Linked DNA regions of Homo sapiens: region 1 is linked to region 2. The links are contacts of gene promoters, found by promoter capture Hi-C in blood cells and fetal thymus (Javierre and others, 2016). All regions are on one chromosome and are shown on one strand. Each heading gives the region's core, a stretch centred on a gene start or on the middle of the fragment in contact. The rest is flanking DNA. Distances are from core to core; before and after follow the strand shown. Region 1 has its middle 5.4 kb from the start of CXCL14. Region 2 holds the start of SLC25A48 (solute carrier family 25 member 48).

Evidence for each region. The method cuts DNA at HindIII sites, captures the fragments that hold promoters and counts their contacts. A CHiCAGO score of 5 or more calls a contact.
Region 1: a fragment that was not itself captured here is called in contact with the fragment with the promoter of SLC25A48 in region 2 in 3 of 17 cell types (M1 macrophages, M0 macrophages and megakaryocytes); the score reaches 6.8 in M1 macrophages.

Annotation. Positions count from the first base shown.
Region 1 is chr5:135,581,793-135,587,046 of GRCh38, forward strand. It overlaps a transcript of SLC25A48 not described here. Among named protein-coding and RNA genes, the nearest start is that of CXCL14, 5.4 kb to the left of the region's middle. RefSeq lists an enhancer at 2,951-3,452. The HindIII fragment of the contact is 3,440 bases long and covers 1-3,133 here.
Region 2 is chr5:135,831,653-135,836,702 of GRCh38, forward strand. SLC25A48 (solute carrier family 25 member 48) reads left to right here and starts at 3,011. Exons shown (of 8, transcript NM_001349336.2): 1 at 3,011-3,241. The coding sequence starts at 3,196. RefSeq lists an enhancer at 1,976-2,477. The HindIII fragment of the contact is 1,059 bases long and covers 2,143-3,201 here.

The DNA.
Region 1 (5,254 bases), core at 164-2,663, 250 kb before region 2:
AGTTCTTCTGGAGCCATGGTACAGGAGAGCATGAGGCCCCTGCTGCCAGCAGGTCTGTGGGGGATGCTGCCTAACTGGGTGAGGGAGGGGGCTTGGCCCCTGACACACCTTCAGGGCACAGACTGTCTAGTGAGCCCAAGCCGAGGGCCTCTGAGCAGGTGGGCATGTGTGAGGCCGTTCTTTGTACAGTGGCACTGTCTGCTTCAAGGAGGTCCCTGGGGTACAGTGAAGGACAGCACACATGCCTTGCCTGTGTGTGTGTATGCATGTGTGCAGATGTCAACACATTCATGGTCATACTGGATTCTACAGAAGAGGTAGACGTGAAGTGTGGGGGCACAGAGGAGGGAGGAAGTGGAAACAGGACATCACTCCTTGAGGGAGTGGAAATTTTGCTGAGACCCCAGGGATTTGCTTATTTCTTCTCTTTACATTTATTGAGCACCCACTGTGTCCCAGGCGTTGTACGAGGTGCTGGGGGTTTGAGGTGAGCCAAGGCAGCTGTGTGCCTGTCCCCAAGCAGCTCAGAGTCTAGTGGGGAAGGCAGACATTAGCTATAAACCACAGAGATCAGTGTGAAACTCCTGCAGAGGTCAGTGTCCTGGAGGGTGGTTGGTGCTAGGAGACTCATCAGGGGATCTGACAGGGTGACGAGGTGGGGACAAATTCCTGGAGGAAAGGGCCATTGAGTTAGATATGAAGGATGGAAAGGAATTAACCAGTGACCACAGGAGGGAGGCCACTCCTGGCCCTTCATGGTCCCTGCTGCTCACACAGTGATCTCCTGGGGGAAGTCCCTGCTCTGAACCCTTTACTGGCTCCCGATCTCATGCAGAGTGGAAGCCAAGTCCCCAGCAGTGCGCACCCAATCATGACCAGCACCTGCCATGCTCCCCACAGGCTGTGCTCCAGATACTCTGCCTTGTCTTACCTTCAAACATCCAAGCCTGTTCCCACCTCAGGGTCTTTGTGCTCACTGGCCCCTCCACCTGCAGTGCTCCTCCCCAGGGGCTGACAGGCAACCCTCTTCTCCTCAGTGAGCCTGGGCTCCAATATTCACCATCCAGTTCTAATCCCACGAGCATACCCCCAACAACAGTCCCTCTCTGTGTTGCCACCGATTTTAGTTTATTCATTGTATGTGCAGCAACCTCAAATTGTACATTTTCATATTTATTTGGGGGTGCATTGTGGATGATCTGTCTGTGTCTGTGGGTGTCTGTCTTGCTCATCCTCAGTATCTACAACAGTGATTGGCATGTAGCAGGGGTTCACTCCCTATCTGTGGAGTAAATAAAAACATGTTTCAGGCAACAGCTCAGCATGTGAGAGTACTGCTGAATCCAGGCTGCACAGGCTACAAGGTTGCATGTGAGAAAGTGTGTGTGCGTGTGTGTGTGTGTGTGTTTGCGTGTGTGTAGGGGTGGCCATGGGGAGTCCATATTCCCAGGGAAGCCAGTTCATCCTCAGGGCATTTGTTTTAGAGATGAAGTCTCTGGGAAGAGGAGGTGGTGATAACAGGAGTGTGACTTTCCAGGAAATCCCACAGGTGTCTGGGCACTACCTCCTTGGTCTGCTTAGAAAGGGGTCTTGACTGGTCAAGGCTGGTTTTCTGCCCTGGGAGCTGGGATCCAGGGCAATTCCTTCCCCCATTCTTTTAGTTCTTTTCGTGACTGACCTTCTTTTCAGAAGAGGAGTCCTTTTTACTTCCCTGGCAGGACAGGAATCCTAGAATTCAGCACTGGTAGAGGCTGAGGCCACAACTGGCCTTCATTGTACATATGAGGAAACTGAGGCCCAGCAATGGGGTTGACTGCATACAAGATCTCCCTGTGCATTAATGTTAGCCAGCCTCCTGTCTCTGTGTCCTGTACCTAGCTACTTAGGCCAGAGCAAGATCCTGGGCTCCAGTAACCTGTCTGGCCCCATCACCACTCATGACATGGTGGGTCACCCCAAAATACCTGCTTCCATTGTGTTGTGTGGCTGCTGGCTCTGAATCCAAGCCTGGCGGGTGCCTCTCCCTCTCCAGCTCCTCCCTCTGTCTGTTCACCTGCAGCCTGTGGAGTCTGGGCAGCCAGCTGCCTCCTCTGTGCAGCTTTCTTTCAGCTACAGCCCTGCATGCTGACCCCTTCCCTGGCCATGCTCTGGGGTGAAGGAAGTTGAAGGACCAAGGTTCCCAAGAACAACCTCTGGTTTTGTTCTTCACACTGCAAATATTTAGAGATCCTGAGTAACTTAAGCCCAGAGAAAATGATGTGGGGGACAGCCAGGCAGTATTGAATTAGGCTTAAAGCAGCCCCGAGGCAGAGTGTATGTAGGGGGGCTCTGTTACTCAGATGGGTCACAGGGGGCACTGCAAGATTCCCCTAAACATGGGAGAAAATGCTTGCAGCAAATATGACAAACCAACAAGTAGCATTTATTCCACCATCTATTCATCCAACAACACTCCCTTACAGGCAAGCATCTTTATTATATTAAGAACACATGCAAAGATATTTCCGAAGAGGGCCCTAACATATAAATGAGCAAAGGACATCAAAGGACAATTCAGGAGAAAAAGAAAGGCAATTAACCAATTCATCAAAGAACATGCATCCTCTTTGGCAATGAAGGAAAAGCACAGCAGTGCTGCAGGATCACGGCATTTTGGTTTTGGTCCCACTCAATGAGGAAATGTTTATTTTAAATAGCAACATCCAAAGCTGATAATGGTAAAGTGAGGAAGCATCACTTAAGCATCACTCATGGGACTATCAATTGGTACAAAATTTGGGGAAGTTATATTTATAGTATGGTATCCAGACTGTTTGAAGTAAACCATTTCATCTTATTAACCACTTCAGAAATCTGTTTAAAATTCTCATAATGGAGAAATACCACATGCAAAGCTAGTCCTTGTTAAAAATAAAGATTTAAACTAAATGCCCAACAATGGGGGATTAAGAAAACAATGAAAGCTCTAAATTTGTGGAGTAAATGCTTATGCAGTAAGTAGAAAAAACACAAGGTTGTGTAAACACTGTGATTATAAGTATGCAAAACAGTAACCTCTGTACAAAGGATGGCAAGACAGAGTTACAAACGTCATTCTCTTTGAGTGGCGAAATGTTGGGCATTGTTGTTGTAAAGCTTCTCTCCTTGCTTTCCAGTTTTTCAGAATGTTCTTGTTATAACAGCAACTCAGGAGCAGTTGATTCAGCGAGGGCTTGGGCAGCCTTCAGCCTCACTGAGCAGACGCTGGCGATGGGCGATGAGCACCTGTGCTGTGCAGGTGGCACTGCAGAGAGGCAGGTAGAGTTGTTGGTGGCTTGGGTGAGTCCCATGGTGAGGGTCTAGGCCCATCTTTAGAGCTGTCCCCCACTGCTTGGCACAGGGGAACAAGCAGCCCCTCCATCCGGCCTCACTTGTCCTCATTCTGCTCTGCCCCACCTCCTGCCTCTCTCACCAGCCCTGTTCCATGTTTGCAGCAGAGTCCTAGGCCTCTGTGCAGGCACCGCCAAGTCCTGTCTCCTTGGCTAGGCTGTTTGCTTTCGTTTGCCTTCCTGAAACTGCGAAGATGTCATTTTACAGGGAAGCCCTCCTTGACTGCACACATCTGCCTGACTCCCGTCCTAGCCCCAGGGTAGGAGAGGCACCTGCTGTCCGCGTGGCTCGTAGACCTTGTTGTCTCCAGTGCCACTCCTCACACTTGTAAAGGCTCCTATGAGGTCTTCTTTCAGGTCCATGATCCTCTGAGGTTGCTCTGTGTCTTTCTTATTAATTCTAGTTCCCCAGCTTGAGCACAGGGCCGGGCACACAGTAGGTGCTCAATGAAGAAATGATTGAATGCAGGATGAACGAATGCAGGATGAATGAATTAATGTGGATCACAGTTTATCACAGTCTAGTGTGTTACAGAGTCAGACTTCCTGGTCTAGAGTACTAGTCTATCACTCTGTGCTTCTGCTTCCTCATCTGTAAAAAGAAGATAATAATAATAATAATAATAAATAATCAGGCTGTGATAAGGATTAAATGAGCTGATATAGAACAAACATGTTGCACAGTATCTTGTCACATAGTAAGTGTTCCATAAATGTTCATTCTTGTTTTATGATTATTAAATCTCGTAGACTCACTCCCCTTATCTGTGGGTTGGCTTGGCTAATTTCTTTTGCTTTATATTTATGAAATGCTTATAGAATGCTTACTATGTCTCAAGGACTGTTCTAAGTGCTATACAAATATTAATTTATTTAATTTTCATAACCACACAAAGTAGGTTATCCCCATTTTACAGATGAGGAAACTGAGGAGAAGGTTAAGTATGTTGCCCAAAATAACTACCAAGTGGCAGAGCTGAGATTCAAACCCAAGCAATCTGACTCTGGAGTCCTGCTCTGCACGGCCATACGCTGCCTCCCAGGAGGAGGGTGGGGGGACGCTCCCTACCTTTTGCCCAGGTGTCACCCACTACCTTCCTGTCTGCATGCTGCTGCCACCTGGTCCTCAGTTCTTCTCCCTGGAGGGCATCCCAGAGTTCTCAACCAGCTAGGATTGTCAACTTTAACAAACAAAAAATACAAAATGCCCATGCAATATTTACGGCATACTTATACTCAAAATTATTCATTGTTTATACTGAAATTCAAATTTAACTTGTGGCCTGTATTTTAACTGGCAACCCTACATCCAGTACCAGAGGGTGGTAATGTGGTGGTCCAAGGAGTCTTCTGCAGTGATCTCAGACACAGACATGGAGCCTTCTGGGTCTGCCATGGGCGGAATGTGGGGAGAGAAAGGCTAGGCACACTGCTAAGCTCTCATAGGGCACAGTGGGCATTCGTGCTCTGATAGGGAAGCAGGCATTGAGGAGGATGGTTCAGGCAGAGACAACAGCTTAAACAACTGCTATGGGATGGGGAAGGTCAAGGAAACTGTAGGATGCTAACGGAGCCCTGTGTGTGTAGGGCAGGGATCTGGGCAGGGGAGGGAAGGGTGATTAGGCTGAATATGTAGATCAGCACCAAATTGTGCAGGGTCCTGGGCAGCTGAGGAGTTTGGGCTTCATCACCTGGATTATAAGAAGCCATTGGAGAATTTCAAGCAGGGTTGTGTGATTCGGTTTTGCCTTATGAGAAGATCTGTCTGGCTGCTGGACGAAAGAAGGATGGCAGAGAGGGAGATGGGAGGCAAGAGAAACCTTGGTTCAGGGAAGTTCTTGCCCAAAGGTCAGGGCATTGTATTTTTTTTGTTTTGTTTTGTTTTT
Region 2 (5,050 bases), core at 1,761-4,260:
TGTGCGCAGTCACACACATGCACAGAATGTGAGACATTGAGGTGCAAAGTGGAAAAGCAGCCAGACCCAGTCCTACTGAGCTACACACAACACACTGGGGAATTGGAATTTATGCTCAAGATCACAGAAAGTCATCAAAGTTCACTAAACTGAGCAGATTCAAAGTTTCAGAAGCTCACTGGGGCAGTAGGACAGGGGCAGAGGGACCCAGGAACCCGTGTCCACTGTGATCCAGGCAGGGCAGTGGCACAGGGCTGGGCTGAGCCACATTCGGAGACAGCAATGAGGGCTGGGTGTCATTGAGGGGATGGACACTCAGGACTTTGCGGCTGGTGGGATAAGACCTTGGGAGAGAGAAATGGAGGATGGCATCCAAGGTTCTGTTTTGGGTGGCCACTGGGTGGAGGTGTGTTTCTCTAAGTTGAAGAGGCACTGGCGGAGGAAGAGAGAGTTCATCGAGGGATGCGCTAAGATGACCCGAGCCACCCAGGTGGAGGTGTTGAGTAGAGGGATGTCTGGACTCTGAAGCAAGGTGTGGGGGTTATACGCTGAGAGATGGGAGGTACGGGTGGGTGAGGGTCCAGATGGGGCCCTGAGGAATTCACACCTAAGCATGAGAAGGGGCCATGGCACCAGGGAAGAAGATGAGAAGAGCTGGAGAAGCAGGAGGAAAGCTGGGTGAGGGCAGGAATCTGGAAGCAGAGGGGAGCAGGCGGCATGGGCAGCGCCTTCACTGCAGCAGGTCAGGCATGGACAGCTGACCCAGGCCTTTGCTGCCCGAGTGTGGCAGGTGGACATGGGGAGGGGATTGTTGGCTTGCCTGAGAGAGTGGTTGGGGAGGTGGGAGCTGTGGGGCTGTGTAGACTAAAGGTGCAGCCAGGAGACTCCAAGTTTGGAGAGCCTTCCCTGATTGCTTCCTGTAGAACGATGGACTCCCTCTCCAGTGCTCTTACAGCCACCTCTGTGTAGCATCTCAGATGGATTGTCTCCTCTCAAACAGAGACTTTCCCCAAAGCAAGGCACTAGCACAGACTGATGCTCAGGAAATTGCTGTGGCCTGAAAGGGTAAATAAGAAATGGGGAGTGGGCCACTAGTTAACAAATGCTATCAGCATAGCCCATCTGCATGTCCTGCTACTGAGGAAAGTGCTCTGAGAGGTCATCATTGGGGAAGGAACTGAGGGAGAAAGAAAATGGGGTTGCTTTCTGGCCCTAGTCATGCAGGGAGTGGATCTCTGTGGAGTTTCTTTCTCTCTGTAATGGCCAGTAGCTGCCCTGCCCTCTCCCGAGTGTAGAATGCAAATGTGAATGGCAGCACACTGCAAATGGTGCTCTGAAGTGCGAAGGCCAGGAAGAAGGGATGGCCTGGATCCTGGCCACAGAGCCAGCATTCTGCCTGGGCTCATAGCCCTGTGGTCTGGGATTCTCCAGGCCTGGCCATGGTTGCTGGTAAACCTAGGGTCCTCCCCTCACTTCCCTGGGTGATGCGCCCCATGGGCAGGTTTGTGGCATGCATATGGGAATGGAGCACAGTAATTCATTTTGGAAAGCAACCCACTCCTGCTCTGCTCCAGCTCGTTAGTAGTTCAAGCAGCAGCTTTCTGGGCCTGGGAGGCCATCCTGGGCTGCCAGGGACACTGCCTGCCAACGTAAGACCTCCTCAATTGGTGCTGACACAGGACTGAGGGGATGACAAACTGCCTGGCACCCCTTAGGTGGTCTTCCAGAGGAGTGGGTTTTGAGAATTGTCAGGCTTTCCACTTGTGGATGCATTCCAATGGTGAACTCAGTAAAAGGCCACTCTTCAGAGACCTGCATTTCTCATAGCAGCCCTAGGCATATATCCCGGGCATGACAGGGCACAGCTTGGGGTTGATGCTGATGGCAACTCTGAAGCCTCAAGACTGAGTGGGTCACCATAAGCAGCAGGAAGTTGAGGTGCCGGGATGGGGTGTGATGCTTCCACTCCTCCCTGGAACTTTGCAATACTTCCCTAGCCAGGCCGGCGACTCCATCCCGGGCTGTCCTCTCCCGATACAGGTCCACTCTCTGTGTGCCGGGGCAGGGGAGGGAGTGATGCTGCAGGAAGGTCCCTTCACCTCCAAGTCCCCACTCCTCAGTGGACAGGCCTTTGTAGGATCAAGCTTCGGTGGTCAGGCTCTGTCTTGCTTTGGAAGAAGGAGGTCTGGCTGGCTGTCGCTTCATATTAACCTGGATGACGTGACATGAATATGCCCAGTGGGACAAGAGCAGGCCCAGCAGAGGCCCCTTCCTCCTGACCATACCCTTCACCATTCTTGTCAACCTTGGGGTGTCTTGGCTGAGACCCACAGCTGAGTCCCTGCTGGAAACTAGCAGAACGCTGGGGGGCTTCGAGTCTTCTTAGGAAGGGAGGAAAGACACTCTCATTGTAATCAAAAGCCTCTCCGCACAGCAGGCCACTTCTCCAGTGAGCACGGACCCCTGGCCTGGGGCCTGGCTGAATGTAGGGTCTGCCTACAGAGAGGGAGTTTGAGGTACAGAGCACCACCTCTGCCTTCTGTTGGCCCAGGGCGGACAGTGTAGGGTGAGCCAGGGCCAGGCAGGGAGCTGGGCCCCTAGAGAGCTGTAGCTGAAAGTTAGACATGACCCTGAACCACCAGGTGCCTGCTCTAGGCACGGGGTACTGAGTGGGACATGGCTGAGATGAACAAAAAGGCATCACTGCCCAGAGTTGGGATGGGAGAGAGTCCACAGCTGATTGGAATCAGCATTGTCAGCACAGCACAGTACAGGGAGATACGCGCATTGCCGTCTCTGGATGGGCGGCTGGCACTTTCAGTTCAAAGGCGCTGAGGCTCTGAAGTTGGCAAGGAAGAGGATAACCCGGAGAAGGGAGGACTAAGAGAATTTCACTTGATGACCCTTGCCTCTTTGTGTCTGGGATGAGCCGCGCGGAGCGCACCCTTATCCACCCAGAGTGCTGTGCCTTTAAGGTCCACTGGGGGCGTGATGTCAGCCGCCCTCCGGCACTTGGAGAGGTGAGCGCGGCAGCCCGCGCAGCCGGTGACTGGGGGACTGGGTTTGGAGTAGGACCTGCGGCGTGCTCGAGACTCCGACTTCGGTCTTGCGGCGCGCTCGCGCCCGCGGGCCATGCCCCACTGACTCTAAGTGGGCACTGCCCCGGCTCCGGGAGGGCGAGACCGAGCGCCGGCCATGGGAAGCTTCCAGCTGGAAGACTTTGCGGCGGGCTGGATCGGAGGTGAGTGTGCTTACCGGGGACCCCCGGTCAGAGAGAGCGAGCCTGGCGGAGTTTGCCTCTATGCTCTGAGGAAACTTTGCCTCTGTGCGCTGCCATCCCGCTCCCCGTTGTGCGCGCAGCCTGCTTTGGGGAGTGCCCGGCCCCGAGATCCCCCTGGTGGTCTTGCAGTTGCCAGGGCTAAATTCTGAGAGCTTCACAGCGTTTCGGGCTGAGCTTCTGATTTGCTCATTAAGTTAGGATCCGTGGGACTTGATGAGGTAATGATTAAACAGCTCGTCAAAGCCCACAGCCAATGGAGGCTCCTGGCGGCGCACACACCCTTCAGTGACCTGGTGCACACCTGAATTGCGGACGTGGCTCGCGGGAACTTATGTATGAGGGTAGCGCTTGGCTGCTGATCCCGGGGCGCAGGGTGGTGGGAGCCAGGCTTCGAGATTAGGCCGGCCCAACGGGGCGTCCCGACTGGAGGGAGCAGAGCTCTCACAGCAGGGAGCGGAGCGCCGGCTGCAGGTGCCCATTGCCAGGCTGCGAGGAGCACTTATTGCCTTCAGCCGCCGCCAACCGTCAGCCATCGCCTACCTCCAAGGCCCCTTCTCCGGGCACTGTTGGGTCTGCTGATCCCTTCGCCACAGCTCCCGAAGCCACTCTTTTACTGGGCCTGGGATGGGTTGCCTGGGCGAGAGTTGCATTCATTTCCTTGCTTCTCCATTTTTCTTTCCAATTGGTCTATCCCTCTTTTCTCAGCTATTAGGAAAGGGGGAAGTTTGAGGGACTTTGCTAATTGTAAAAAAAAAAAAAAAAAAAAAAAAAAGTCTTTCTTTGGACCCATCTAAAAGGGTTATCCTAAAAGGGATGTTGGCAAATGTAGCCCCTCACCAAAGGGGTGAAAAAATAAGATGAAAAGAACAACAAACCAGATTGGATCCCAACTCCTCCCCTCCTACCTAGCAGGAGACCACCTCTCTCCCGAGACCGGTGGCTGCAGGGCCCTGCTTCACACCTTCCTGAGCAGAGGTGGCTCCTTTCACCTTGAGTAAGTCTGTTGGCACAGATGCCCTTGGGTGGGGCTGAGACCCGCCTCTCCTAACTTTCCCAGTTAGGGGGCTGCAGCCTGAGGCCCGCTGGGCATATCCAGGTCCTTTTTGACTGGACAATTATTCCACCATTCAGCGGGGCAGGCAGAGAGAGGAGACACTTCCGTGGGCTGCCCCTTAAATAAGCAGACCACCTTCGGTAGGGATGCAAATGGCTTGGTTTGAAAAATGCCCTGGAAGGTAGGGCTGAGTCAGAGTAGTTCCAAGACTCTGATACCCCTCCCCATCCCCAAACGTGATAACATGTGAACCCTCCCCGACTCACAGCAAGTAGGGGATTTTTGTGCTTTATTCTGGTCCTTACTTTGGTGATGTTATTGAAAGTAATGGCAAAAATCGCAATTACTTTTGCACCAAACTAATAACATGGCTTTTTTTTTTTTTGGCTTCCATGAAATGATGGTAAGTGTTTACTACACTTGAATACTTACTAGGTGCCAGGTATAGTTTAAGTGCTATATGTATTCTTTTAAAACAATTTTATCAAGGTTTATTTTATGTATTATAAAATTCACCCATTTCAAATGTACAATTCAATGTCTTTTAGTAATTTTACAAAGAGGTGCAACCATCACCATAAATTTGTTTTAGAACATTTTCATCCCCCAGTAAGATCCCTCATTTGAAGTTGAATGCTGTTCCCTCTCCTTAATCTCCTTTCTGTAAATTTGCCTTTCCTGTATATGTTATGTCAATTGAATCTTGCAATATGTGA